Linked DNA regions of Homo sapiens: region 2 is linked to region 1. Evidence: promoter capture Hi-C in human tissues and cell types (Jung and others, 2019). All regions are on one chromosome and are shown on one strand. The core of a region is centred on a gene start or on the middle of the fragment in contact, and the rest is flanking DNA. Distances in the headings are between cores, read along the strand shown.

Evidence for each region. Contacts are between HindIII fragments. The study calls those that stand out against the background at their distance.
Region 2: a contact is called between a fragment that was not itself captured here and the fragment with the promoter of GRIA4 in region 1, in 5 of the 25 tissues and cell types used here (adrenal gland, aorta, hippocampus and 2 more).

What each region holds. Positions count from the first base shown.
Region 1 is chr11:105,607,186-105,613,596 of GRCh38, forward strand. GRIA4 (glutamate ionotropic receptor AMPA type subunit 4) reads left to right here and starts at 2,888. Exons shown (of 17, transcript NM_000829.4): 1 at 2,888-3,243; 2 at 3,723-3,900; 3 at 5,091-5,249. The coding sequence starts at 3,813. RefSeq lists a silencer at 3,864-4,064. The HindIII fragment of the contact is 8,669 bases long and covers 1-6,411 here.
Region 2 is chr11:105,657,720-105,664,130 of GRCh38, forward strand. All of the region lies in intron 3 of GRIA4 (glutamate ionotropic receptor AMPA type subunit 4), which reads left to right. Among named protein-coding and RNA genes, the nearest start is that of GRIA4, 51 kb to the left of the region's middle. The HindIII fragment of the contact is 5,638 bases long and covers 751-6,388 here.

The sequences.
Region 1 (6,411 bases), core at 1,638-4,137:
ATTGTTTCTCTGTCTCTATGAGACGAAGACAATGCTTCTGAGTGAGATGGTGCCGAGCCATCTCTTGCTTTGCTTTCCAGCCGCACTTCCACTACTTCCCCTCATATAACCTGAAGTCTAGTTTTACCAAGCTTTTAGCAGTGTCTAGAAAGACATAATTTTTCTCCACTTGATAATCCCTACAAACACATAGCAACTCAGTTCAATTTTATTTTTCTCTCTGTGAGTTCTCCCTGAATTCCCTCAAAGTCAGAGTTAGACACTCTATTTTGCTCACATGGCACTCTGCACCTCACTCTATAAGAGCCTTTATCACATTTTGGGGGGCAACTCATTATTGACAAGAGTTGCCAGTTATGTGCCAGAACTGTGTTGAAAGTTTACTTATATCCTGTCAGAAAAGAAATGTTAGGTAATATATCCAAGTCAATACAGCTAAGAAATTGAGGGCCTGTAATCTGAAACCAGTTACTAATTATTAGTCTGAAAGCCTGAGGTCTTTCAGGTAGAACACACTACCTTTCTGAATGCTAGGATTCTTGTAGTTTACTTTTCAGCTCCCAGACCCCTCGTCACTCCTTAAACTCATTAACACAGCAGGTTTTAATAAAGACAGCCCAGTCTCTGAAATCAGACAACTTGAGTCCCATCCTTAGTTATGGTTTCATCACTTACCAAGAATATAATCTTGAGAAAGAATCTAAATCTTTAGTTGGGTTACCTAACAAATGCAAGGATACCTAAAATTTTCTGTAGATCAGGTAATATATGTATGGCTTCAGCACAATACCTTGCACATTAGTGAGCATTCATAAACATTAAGAGTCTTCTAAGAATATCAGGGATTTTGTTTTGTTCAACTTTATATCTCAAACACTTGGAGAATAAATACACATCATAGGTGCTTAATATATAACTATTTGACATATATGTACATCTATATACATGTATATACGTATATAATATATGTATATATGATATTTCTATGTATCATACAGAGAAAATATATTTGATACATACATTTATAAATATATGTGTATATAATACAGATAAAGAGAGTTTAGGTTTAGAAAGTAAAATAGAGGTTTTAACTACTTGGGAAAATAGAAATTAAAAACAACTGGATTACTATTTTGGAAAAATATAGTTGTGTCATCTGTGGTTATATTAGTCCAGGTGTTATCATGACAGTTAAGTGGGGAAAAAAAACTTGTCCTGCATCTATATCAATGATGCTATTACATCATATGAAAACTGAAATCTTTCAATTTTGAGAAGAATTAAAGTTAATAATTGCCTCTGGATCAGGAAGAGCTTCACTAGTTACCCAAGCAAGTGATGAGTTTAACAGTTTGGTGGATTTTGAAATTTTAATTTAACTTGAATTTTATGTGTCATACTCTATTATCCTTTTTCAAGAGAAAACAGAATGCTATTATTCACAGCCTTGTTTTTTAACACAGAAAAATAAAAAAAGGAAAAATGCTTCAAATTTCACTTGACTTGCAAGACTAAAACTTCACAAACTAAAATGACAAATGTATGATTTGTAAAATACAGTTACAATTAGGTTTTTTTTTTCATAACAATCTGTGGTGAAATGTAACGGGAAAGCAGACACTTATTTTAAAGATGCAATTTTAAAAATAAAATTCAAAACTTAGGAAATAGAAAAGCACTCAAGTTTTAGCAGGGATTTTAAAATGTCATCTACAAACTACAAATACAGGTAATCAGTGACACCAAATAAAGTATTTTGAAAGAGTTAAGGTAATGTATATTTCAAAAAGCCGTTACCAGGCTTTCTGTAAGTCCCTTGCAAGAATTCCACTTTAAGCATTGTAGTCTCAAATATTATATCAGGCAAACCTAGGCATTTGCTATATTCTTTTTAAAAATTTAATGGCAGACATCACCCTAGGTTCCCTAACGTTTAAGGAGAACCTCTCCTTCTAATGATTCTCTCACACAGCTTATTGGAACAGGAGATTGTATTTACTAACTAGATCAGGAAATCTCAAACCATACAGAGGAAATCAGAAACCGGTCACTCACGGCTACCACAGTGACTGCTTCTGAGTGTGGTTCAAGCTCAGTCCAGGACAGGCAGATGAAAGGACAATCTTAAAGGTGACTCTGGAGAGCAAGTGAGACTGTAACCCCAAAACTTTCTAGGATAATTCATTTTCACTTCTACCCAGTCAAAACAACTATTGACATCATCACTGAAGTGCTTAAGTCTACCTGGAGGTGGCGTGGAGCAGAGTGAGCATTCCAGAGTCCCAGACAAGAGGAGATGTGCACGAAACACTATCTTCCTGTCAGACACCTGTGCCCACTGCCCCAAGCACTGCCCCTCTGGTCCTTCATCAGCCTTTGCGCTGTGTCCCTCCTGCTCCTGCAATGGGCCACAGCACAGAAGGAAAGAGTCCTCCGGAATGGGTGACTGTATAGAAAGCAATCGAATCTTTAATCACTTTTCCTACTTTACACTTCACGCAGTTCTTATTCCTATCCCTGCTTCATGCCTTTCCAAGAGAATGTTAGAGGCCTCTTTCAATTTTCATTTCTCAGTCTTTTCCCCATCCCGTTCAGTACCCTAAACTTCGTCAGTTATTTAAAATAACCTTTTACCCCCTCCTCCCCTTCCCAGGATGTTTCAACTTCTCTGGCTCTCTTCCCCATCCTTACCTCCTCCAATTCTTTCATCCTGGTCCTGGCCTCTTAAACCCGCCAGGGGCTGCCCTTTGCCTGTCTTTTCTCCTCCCATCCCTCTCTGAACCCTTTCACCTCATCCATTCCCTTGTCAGGCTCTCCAGATTCCCGGGCTGTTTGCTGGTGAGAAATCTTTGCTGCAGCGAGGACCGGAGTCCCCCGCGCGCAGCCCAGTGGCAGAAGAGGGCTAGGCTGAGAGGGAAGCCAGGACTGTAGGAGAGGGAGGCAGCCCGTCCTCCTCACGAACCTGCAAGGATGCGGCAGGGGCCTGGGGGCATGGGGAGGTACTAACCCCCCGGAGCCCCCGATTGGGGCTTGCAGACCTGGCCCGTGGGCGGATTTTCTGCCTAGCGCAGCCGAGAAGCAGAGGTGCCAGGAAAACCAAGAGAGGGGCGCTGGGGGTGCCCATCCCCAGAGTCGGTCCCTCTGCGAACCGAGGAAGAAAAGAGGAGGGAGTCAGCGAGTGGTCAGAAGGGAAAACCTGACACCAGACTGGCTCCGGAGCGTCCGGGAGACTGGGGCGCTCCGGTGAGCACCCAGGGGGTGAAGCCAGCCGAGCGGTGGGCGAGGGGCGTGCGGAGGGAGTGCGCGCTCGAGGAGGGGACGCCAGGAGGGCAGCGATGCTCCGGGCTGGTGCAGGCTTGCTGGGGGATGTCGGCTGATGCGAGCTGGAGAGCGCGTGTGGCGGCCGCGGCGCCAGTGTTTGTGTGTATGTGAGAAAGCAAGGGGCGAGCGCGAGTGCGAGTGAGGCAAAGATAGAGCGCATGTCTCATCCCTGCGAGCAGCCACTAGACGCTCCACCACCATCTTTTGCATGTGCAACATTTGCAGCCGGACAGAAAACCTCTCCCAGGGCTATGGAGACTGCGGGAAAAATCTGGCGGCTCGCGATGGATTGCTAAGGAGAACTAGTCATAATCTTAAACCACCGAAACCTCTTTCCTTTTTTTTCTTTCTTTTCTTTCTTTTCTTTTTTTTTTTTTTTTTTTGGTTGATTTTAATTTTAGCGCCATCGTCTTCAATGCTTCTCTGAACAGCCTTTAGGAAGAGTGCGAGAGAAAGAGAGAGAGCGCGCGCCAGGGAGAGGAGAAAAGAAGATGAGGATTATTTCCAGACAGATTGTCTTGTTATTTTCTGGATTTTGGGGACTCGCCATGGGAGCCTTTCCGAGCAGCGTGCAAATAGGTAAGGTGTGCTCCGATGGGGTGTGCATGTGGCTGGTTGTAGCAGATATCCGAAAGTGAGTTAAATGAGTTGCTGATAAGCAATTCAGGGAAACCTTCAGCAGTTCCCTTCCCCTCTGTTTCCCTCCTCTTCCTTTCTCTCCTTTGCAAAAAGACTTCCTCTTTAGTGCAGGTTCCGTTGGAATACACCCAGGGCAGCCCACCCATGCGTTCTCAGCCCATAGCCCTATTTCCACCTTTACCTATAGTCGCTTAAGTAGGATTGAAATAAGTTGGGGGAAAGTCTTCGGGGAATTTGGTTGTATTTTATATGATATTTATTTCCATCCCTTTCTCTAAAGCATAAAGTGATGTCGAGTTTGTTTAAAAAAGAAAAAAAAAATCCACTTCTTCCCATTCTGGACGCCGCAGCTTTCTTGCTATTACAGAAAGACACTGTTTGAGGAAAAAGACATTTCCACCCGCACGCCCTGCCGTTTCTTGCTACCAGTTAGCAGATTCCAAAGTTAGATCCCTTTCCTGGAAGCTTCTCCCCTTTTATTTTGTTTTCTTCTTGAAGCTTTTGCCCTTATTTCTCTACCTCGACTCTGTTTCCAGGGACACCCTCCATCCTTGGCTTTTCTTGCTATTCTCCTCTACTGTCTTTTAATGGGACGCAGCTATTGAATTTCTTCCAGCTAAGCCCAGCCTCAACACTGCATCATTTCTCGTGGACTGTGCATAAAACGGAGTTAATTAGGCTGAGTCCACGAGCTGGAGGAAAATAAAGTTCATTTCTTCTTTCTGATTTCCCTCTTCCCTGTGTGGCACTATATCCCTTCATTTCCGTATTTTAATGTAAATCTCTTTTCCGCTCATCTGCATGCATCTTAGAGAGAGCTGCCCTGAGGTGGCTGATGTAGCAGTGTGCTGGGAATCAGGGGGAGGGCAAGGGAGAGAAAGGAACATTCACTAAATGGTCTCAGAGGTCATTGTGAGCAAGACACATTAGGACAAGAAAAAGCTGAGCTGCTCTAAAGACTAAATACTAAGCATGCACCTTAGGGACAAAGGGCAGTCTCCCTAGATGTGGCAGGTATAGCTCTTTAATTGTATGTGCTTGTGAATGGCAGTAGATTTGACTGTGCTTGGGGTGGGTATAATGTTGACAAGAGGAAACAGTGAATGTGCTTTTCCTGCTGTTTTTAATAGGTGGTCTCTTCATCCGAAACACAGATCAGGAATACACTGCTTTTCGATTAGCAATTTTTCTTCATAACACCAGCCCCAATGCGTCGGAAGCTCCTTTTAATTTGGTACCTCATGTGGACAACATTGAGACAGCCAACAGTTTTGCTGTAACAAACGCCTGTAAGTAAAACATAAGCTATGAAAAATTAGAAGAGAACTGAAACCAAGCAATGGAGTCCTCTTCCTCTTTGTTATTTAATTTTTTTAGAAAGAATTTCAAGATTCCCACAGTTGCCTGGTTTCAGGACAAATCAGAGTTAAAAACAAGACTTCGTTTCAGGGATATTTAGTTGTTTTTTTTTTCTTTTCCTTAATTTATTTTTCTTTTCTTTCTTCTCCTCCCTCTCTTTGCTTCTTCCTGACTTTCTCTTTTATTCATTATCTGTCTAGATCATTCAAGTTAAATTTTCCTTTAACATTTTAGTGTTATTCCTATCATCCGAATGTCAATTTAGTGAAAATTGTACTCAAGCTAGTTTTTTATTCTTTTCCTTTGGTTTTTCTTATTTGCTTTTCACTTGAGTAAGCATAGGTCTTGCTTTTAAAGAAGAAACATGAAGACTATGGAAGGCTTGCTAATAGTGAGAAAAAGAGGGGAGTGGTGGTGTGGAGGATATATATTTGAGTCGGTTGGTTGACGCTGCAGATGATCTGGTGATGTCACTTGAGGCTGCCCTGCCCTTATATTCTGGGGTGTAAATGTCTCTTACTATCACATAATGCATATATCCTGTGGATATAACTCCATGAATCCTTACCTCGATGCCAAATCACATTAGGCTCCCATCCACCTGAATTCACCAACCAACCCAGCTTTATCTATTATTCCACACAATGAAACTAAACGGGTGACCTCACCTAATGCCGTAAGAAAGCAGTTGTACAATTCCTCCCACTCTCACCAGGACACTGTATAACTTAATGTAAAAAAAAAATACAATCAACTGTGCATGTTAGTTTAAAACACATTGAAACATGATCAGTCAATAGCAGTTGTATTGCTTTTTCCTTCTGGAAGGAAGTGCATGTTTCAAATACCTCCTCACATTTATATGCTAATTTACCACTGTTTTAAATTCATAAATTCAGATAATGACTATAGATTATTTAAGAAGTAGGAATAGTTTCTACATACAATTTTGCATGTTTTCACAGTTAATAAAATGTTCAAGCTGAATTGTAAAGCCTTTTTGTCATATCAAGCTGGGAACATTTTTATTTAAAATTCTTTCAGTACAAGAAAGTGTGCTGAACAAAGAAACAAGTGAAATTGAAAACAGAG
Region 2 (6,411 bases), core at 2,320-4,819, 51 kb after region 1:
CTACTGATGGCACCCAGAAATGTTTCTGATTTTTATTTGATCATGATAGTACAATGTACTTTGTAGTCTGTATGGAATTAGAGGAACTCATGTAATATAAAAAGAAAAAATAAGATTCAAATATTAGTACAGATGGAATGTATTTTTTTCTTTAAAGGAGGTATATGGAAACTCTATTTTTTTCTCAATTTTGCTGTGAACTTAAAAATGTCCTAAAATATAAAGTGTATTTTAAAATTTTATATTTTATTATACCTTTTAAGTTACTTATCTGTGTGTACAAGTATTTTTATCAGGAAAAATTCTCATTTTTGAATATCTTTTCAGAGAAAGTGTTAACAGCATATTTCTTAAGTATAGTAGAATTTTTTTAAAGTTTAAGAAATATTAACATTAGTGTCATATTGTCTCACCTTAAAAGATGTTTCAGTGTCTGGTCTTTCCTCATTCCAATTATCAGTACTATTATTGAAATAGGTATAGAAATTAATAAAATACATATATTTCTAGTATTCAAATATGAAATATGCATTTAGATGAGTTTGCTGCTTGCCATGAGTTTATAGAATAAAGATAAGATGAATTTTTGTTTTTCATCCTGAACAGCTTTCTTCTTTTTAAACCTCTAATTTACATTGTAAACATGAATTTCAGAATAACAGGAACTGATCTTTAAACAGAGTATTTCAAATGGCCTGGAATTTATAAAATAATATATTGCATCATAAAAGAATCTGGAATGTGTATAGGAAAACTAAAGAAAAAGTCACTATTCTAGATAAAAAGAAGTAGACATGGGATTAATGGAGGTGATTTCTGTGGGGACATGAATCCAAATATAAGTAATATCATACAGAAAGAAATATACTCATAAAATACTCATAAACAAAGATGGAAAAATACTCATAAACAAAGTGGCAAGTGAGAGAAATTATTTTGGGAGTGATAGTTGACATTATCTTTACAAGAAGAAATGTATAGGGATATAAGACTCGGCTCTGAAAGGAGCAAAGACCTCCTTAGGTCTTTGTTGAATTTTTTGAGGAAATTTCTAAGAGATGTTATTTGTGAGAAAGTAACAAAATATAATGAACTAATAATTTTTTTCTTACATGTGAATGGAAAGGATAGGTAGGCGATTAGAACTCCTGTTGAAATTAAACTCTACATTTCCAAGTCAAGATGACAGACAGACTGAATCCATAGGTTAATCTCTTCTCCTTCCTAAAACCCCAATAAAATGATATTCAACTAGTAAACAGACATAAATCTACATTGATGACAATAATGGGATAAATTTGTCAGAATATTCTAGCATGTTCACAGAAACAAAGCTAAAAAGGAGTCAATGAACTTGGCCAAAGTCCAAGGAAACTCATGAAACAGAAATACCTGAGGGTTCCAGTGCATTAGTTGCTTCCTCACCCATCATCCATGTGGTAGCTGCGGGGATTGTCACCCAAATTTCACCTATGTCATCTTCCAGGTAAACTTGTTCTTATTGGCAGAGCATGGCTGTCACAAGAAGCTACAATGCCAAGTACTTACTTATGAAGACTCTCTTACATCTTAGGCATGCGATTTGGCTCAATTCTGAACAAGTGGAGGTGGAGAGATATTAAGAGACTTCTAGGAAAGGTTTATCTCACTGTTGTAAAGTGTCTCTGAAGAAAACATTATTTTCCTTCATTGCATTTATTATATCTACCCAGAATACCTGGAATTGCCACAGTTATTTGTGATTAGGGAACCAGCTTAATGCTGAAGTGAATTTATCAAGGATGGCAAAGAAGAAGGACAAAAATGAGTCTGTGCCCTAAGTAGCATCACTAAACTCATAAATTAACCCTAGAACAACATACCTCTATGTTTATAGATGGTCCATACTGTGTAAGCCACTTTAAGTGAATGTTCTTTTACTTGCACCCAAAAGCTCCTGACATACAGCTTAAACTAAAGCTTGTTAATTGACAAGCTCCTTCTATTTCCACTGAGTTCTAGTCAATTTTTTATTTCCTAATTCTAAAATATAAACAAATGGCAGTAGACACCAGACTTTTCAGGAAAGCCTGTATCATAGGACTGAAAGAACATCACAAAAATTACCACAGAGGAAAGAGAGAGATGAATAGAAGATGCACTTAAAACAAAAATTTCTAACTAATATTCTCAGAAAAATTCAATGTGATATCAAACAAGGTCATGATAATGTGAATAATGTAAGATACTACTGAAATTAAAAACAATGGTAAAATTTTCAAAATAATAAAAATATTAAAATTCAAAGTCAAAGAAAGCTTCCAAAAGTAGAACTGCATACAAAAGAAAAACCGTTAAACAAAAGAGGAGTCAGAGAGAATCAATTCAGGAGTTCTAACGTTTGGTTAATAATATTTCTAGGGGAAGGAAAAAATGAAGAGAAATTTAATTTGAAAATATAAGCACATAAAGATAATTCCCTAGATCTCAAGAATTTGAAATTCCAGATGGAAATATCCACTAGGTGTCCAAAACACTGATAATAAAATTAGAAATCAATTAGAACCCAAAGGATAAAGAGCAGGTGCTAAAAAGGAAAAACTAGTTATCTACAAAGAATGAGATTAAGAATAGCAGCAGAATTCTCATAAAAAGTATTGAATGTCCAATATCAGACTAAGAATGACATTACAGATCTAGGGACATTTTTACCCTAGATTTTTTTGGGCTTAGAATACTGTAAACAGTAAAACTATCAATCAAATTTGAGAGTAGAATGAATATATTTTCAGATATGCTTGAACACAGAAAATTTATGTTACAGATATTGTTCTTGGAAAATTTATTTTTAAAAATGAAGGTATGGGGTTCAGGAAACAAGGAGAACAATAAGATGAAGTCTCATGATAATTTCTCTAGAGAATTAAGAGTCTATATTGTAGGACTGGGTTTTCTGAAAGAGACAGAAAAAAAACAGTTCTTAACACATAATGTAATATTAAACAGATAGGGATGGGGGGAATCGACTATTATGCAGGCAAAAAGTTGAAAGAAAAAGAATGTCCATGAAAAACTCCAAGACATATCTATATATCTATATCTCCATATATAGATACAATTGCAGTCATTTGATACTATTTGTTACTGAAGTGAGAGAGGTTTCATTATCATAATAACGTAAACATGACTTACTTATTTTCAAAGTTTAGGATCAACCTGTAGATAAGTTTATAGAGAAGGTAAAGAAGACCTAGCTACAATTTCTGAAGAGAAAGTATGTGTTCTTAACCTTGACTGTATAGAAGAAAAAATTCAAATTTCAGAATTAGAAAGGTGGGTGTGAAAAACACTGAAGCAAACGCTAGAAGCCCTAACACCAATTTTCAAAGTGGAAGATGAGATATTTTCTAGTGTGACATAATAAGGAATTAAATATATTACTTAATGATACATAGATTATCAATAGATACCTTAGAAAGATGAAATACTATGTTAGCAGGGTCTGGAGAGAAAAGCATGGGTAGACAAGAGTTGTATTTATATCTATTACAGTAATAAGTTATGCCTTCAATTGATATACATAGAAAGAGAAGTATAGGAGTATTATATAGAGATATAATAACATAAAATGAGTATTGGTTTGTTTAATGAGGTACAGTCACTACCCCCTAGAAATTGCTCTAGATTGATACTGAAGACACAAAACAAATAAACATAATACATAATATTATGTAGCCCTTATTTGGATTTTGATTCAGAGTTTTGGGGAAAAATTCATTTTGAGATAAGTAGAAAAATGTGAAGATGGGCTGGATATTAGATGAAATCAAGAAATGCATTTTGTTAGATAAGAAAAAGGCATCATATTACATAAGAAAATGTTCATACCTTTAAAGAAATTCATGGTTAATTTTTTATACATGTTGACGTATAAATTGATGAAAAAAATTACATCTCGACTTTGTTTTTAAATAGTCCAACTGAAACAGAGAGAAAAAGAAGAGGAATAGATAAGCAGCATGGTAAATTCTTGGTATTTGTCAAATTTGGACGATGGAATATGAGGTTTACACAAATATTTTTTGAGCCCACTTGTCCCTAGGGAACAGGACTAGAGAAAGATAGGCAAGAGATTTTCCTTGTCATTATAGAACTTTCTACATATTTTTTGTTTTTTCTTAATCACGCTTATATATTTCTATGAGGAAAGGAAATTTAAAATGACTATATTTTTTCCACACAACCACTAATGAACTGCAAAGTTGGATTAATAAGACCTTCAATGAAGAAAACTGTGTGTGTGTGTGTTTGTGTGTGTGTGTGTGTGCACATCAAATGAATGTTTAAGAATATAAACTCAACAGAAGTTGGCACAGTAAATGAATGCAATGTGGCAAAGCAGGCAAGAACTAACAAAGCAGATGACATTTTATTTGAGTCATAACGTAATCATTGTTGATGCACTTATTGACTAAACTAGATTAAAAATTTGGCAATTGAATATGTTATTGTATTTAACCCTTCTAAAAATATTCATTTTACAGGTGAGAAAACTGAGTTTGATCAGTTGATTAGCTTGTCTGAGTGCATGTATCTCTAACTGGCAAAACTGGAAGTTAAACCTAGGTCTGCCTGTTTCTAAACTATAAGCTTTTCCACTGATAAAAAATAACCAAGATCAGATAGAAAGGAAAGGAGAACTGCATTCCATGAGGCAGAAAGGCATGGAAACAGATACAGAGGAAAAAACACTGTTAGTCTTTGGTGGGGAGAAGGATAGGGTGGGAAGCGAGAATGTCAGCAGACCAAAGTGGAGAGTTCAAGTTAGAGACGAAAAAGGAATCTGTCAAATCAGTAAGAAGAATCCATAGTGTGCAAGCAACAGCAATATATAACTATTGAAATTTTAGAGAGAAAAATGGTTTTACTTCTTTACTCATTCTTTACTCATTCTGAAGTGAAACTTTGAGACAGATGGAAAATAATATGTAACAAAGCAAGTGTTCGATCACAAAGGGGGCATCCATTGCAGAAAGATCTATTGATTAAAATAAATGATGTGGCAGAAAGCTACACATTTCAAAAAAAGCCAGTGGTTAAAAAGCAGAGACAGTAAGTTCCCAGGCTGAGACTGAGGTTTTCTCAGAGTTACTGAGAGCAACAGAAGGGCCCTCTGTGTTCTTTAAACTCCATATGTAGACATCATTGTAGCGACACTCACACTATCTCTGACACCAAATTACAGCCATGACACAGAGAGTAAATACATAAAATAAGAGTATCTCAAAACCAGTGAATGGGAACAGTCTTGCCAAAAAATAATCACGACAGATAATCTAAAATATCCTTGTAGCCTATCTTTATAATTGAGTTTATAATAACTATAAACTCATGCCTCTGAAAATAAAATGTTTTAAAAAGGACAACTGTCTTAAAAAATATAACTTTATATCAAGTTCATTGATTTATATAACTTTATTACCAAGTTCATTGATTTACTCAAGCCATTTTTAATTTAGATTATATATTCAAGGTTCATAACATTCCTAATTTAAAAATTAAGAAAATTAATTATAAAGCTCACAATAGTACGTTAGTTCAACAACTAGTTCTCATTTTAGTTATCAATAACTGGGATTCTCTAAATTCATCTATTTCTTCAACAGACATTTATTGCACATCTACTATATTCCAGGTACTGAGCTCTACAGATAAGTAAGGCACAGTCATTACTCTCAAGGAACTCATAGTCTCACGGGGAAAATCAAAACGTGAATATATTTTAAAGTGACAAGTGCTGCAATAGAAGTATTTCCAGCATGATACTTAAATAGAGACAATGACAGGACTAGCTTTAATAAGGGAATAGGGAAAGGCTTTGCAAAAGAAATCTAACATTTGAAATTCCATTTCTTAGAGGAACTAGATGATGATGTGGATGACACCAGGGAGAAAGGTATTCCAGCATTAAGGAGCAGCACTTAGAAGAACATAGAGAAATAAACGTTTTAAAATGACTCAAATATAGGGAAACTTTCAAAACTTTATATGGCTGGAAAGTAGGGTCCATTTCGAAGATGACACTGAAGTCAATAGTCCATTTATATAATAATAACATCTTCCTGGTGTATAGAGCAGAGTTTTTAAAGTATAAAAGCAGACTTTTTAAGCTATGTAACAGTGCTCAACTTTTCATTCGTCTTTGTGAACCCTCCATAGTAGGTTAATGGAAAAATAACTTTTGGAGATAGATGCACTACATGAATGTGGGCCCTTACTACCATGATAATAATATTTACCTTGCAGGGTTGTCAGGAAGATCGAAGGAAAAGCTATATGTATCACTAGTAGGAAAGAGTGTGAGCTTATTCTATTGCTCAACAAATAATATGTTGAGTATCTAGTATGTGTGATGTTGTTGAGGGATGCCGT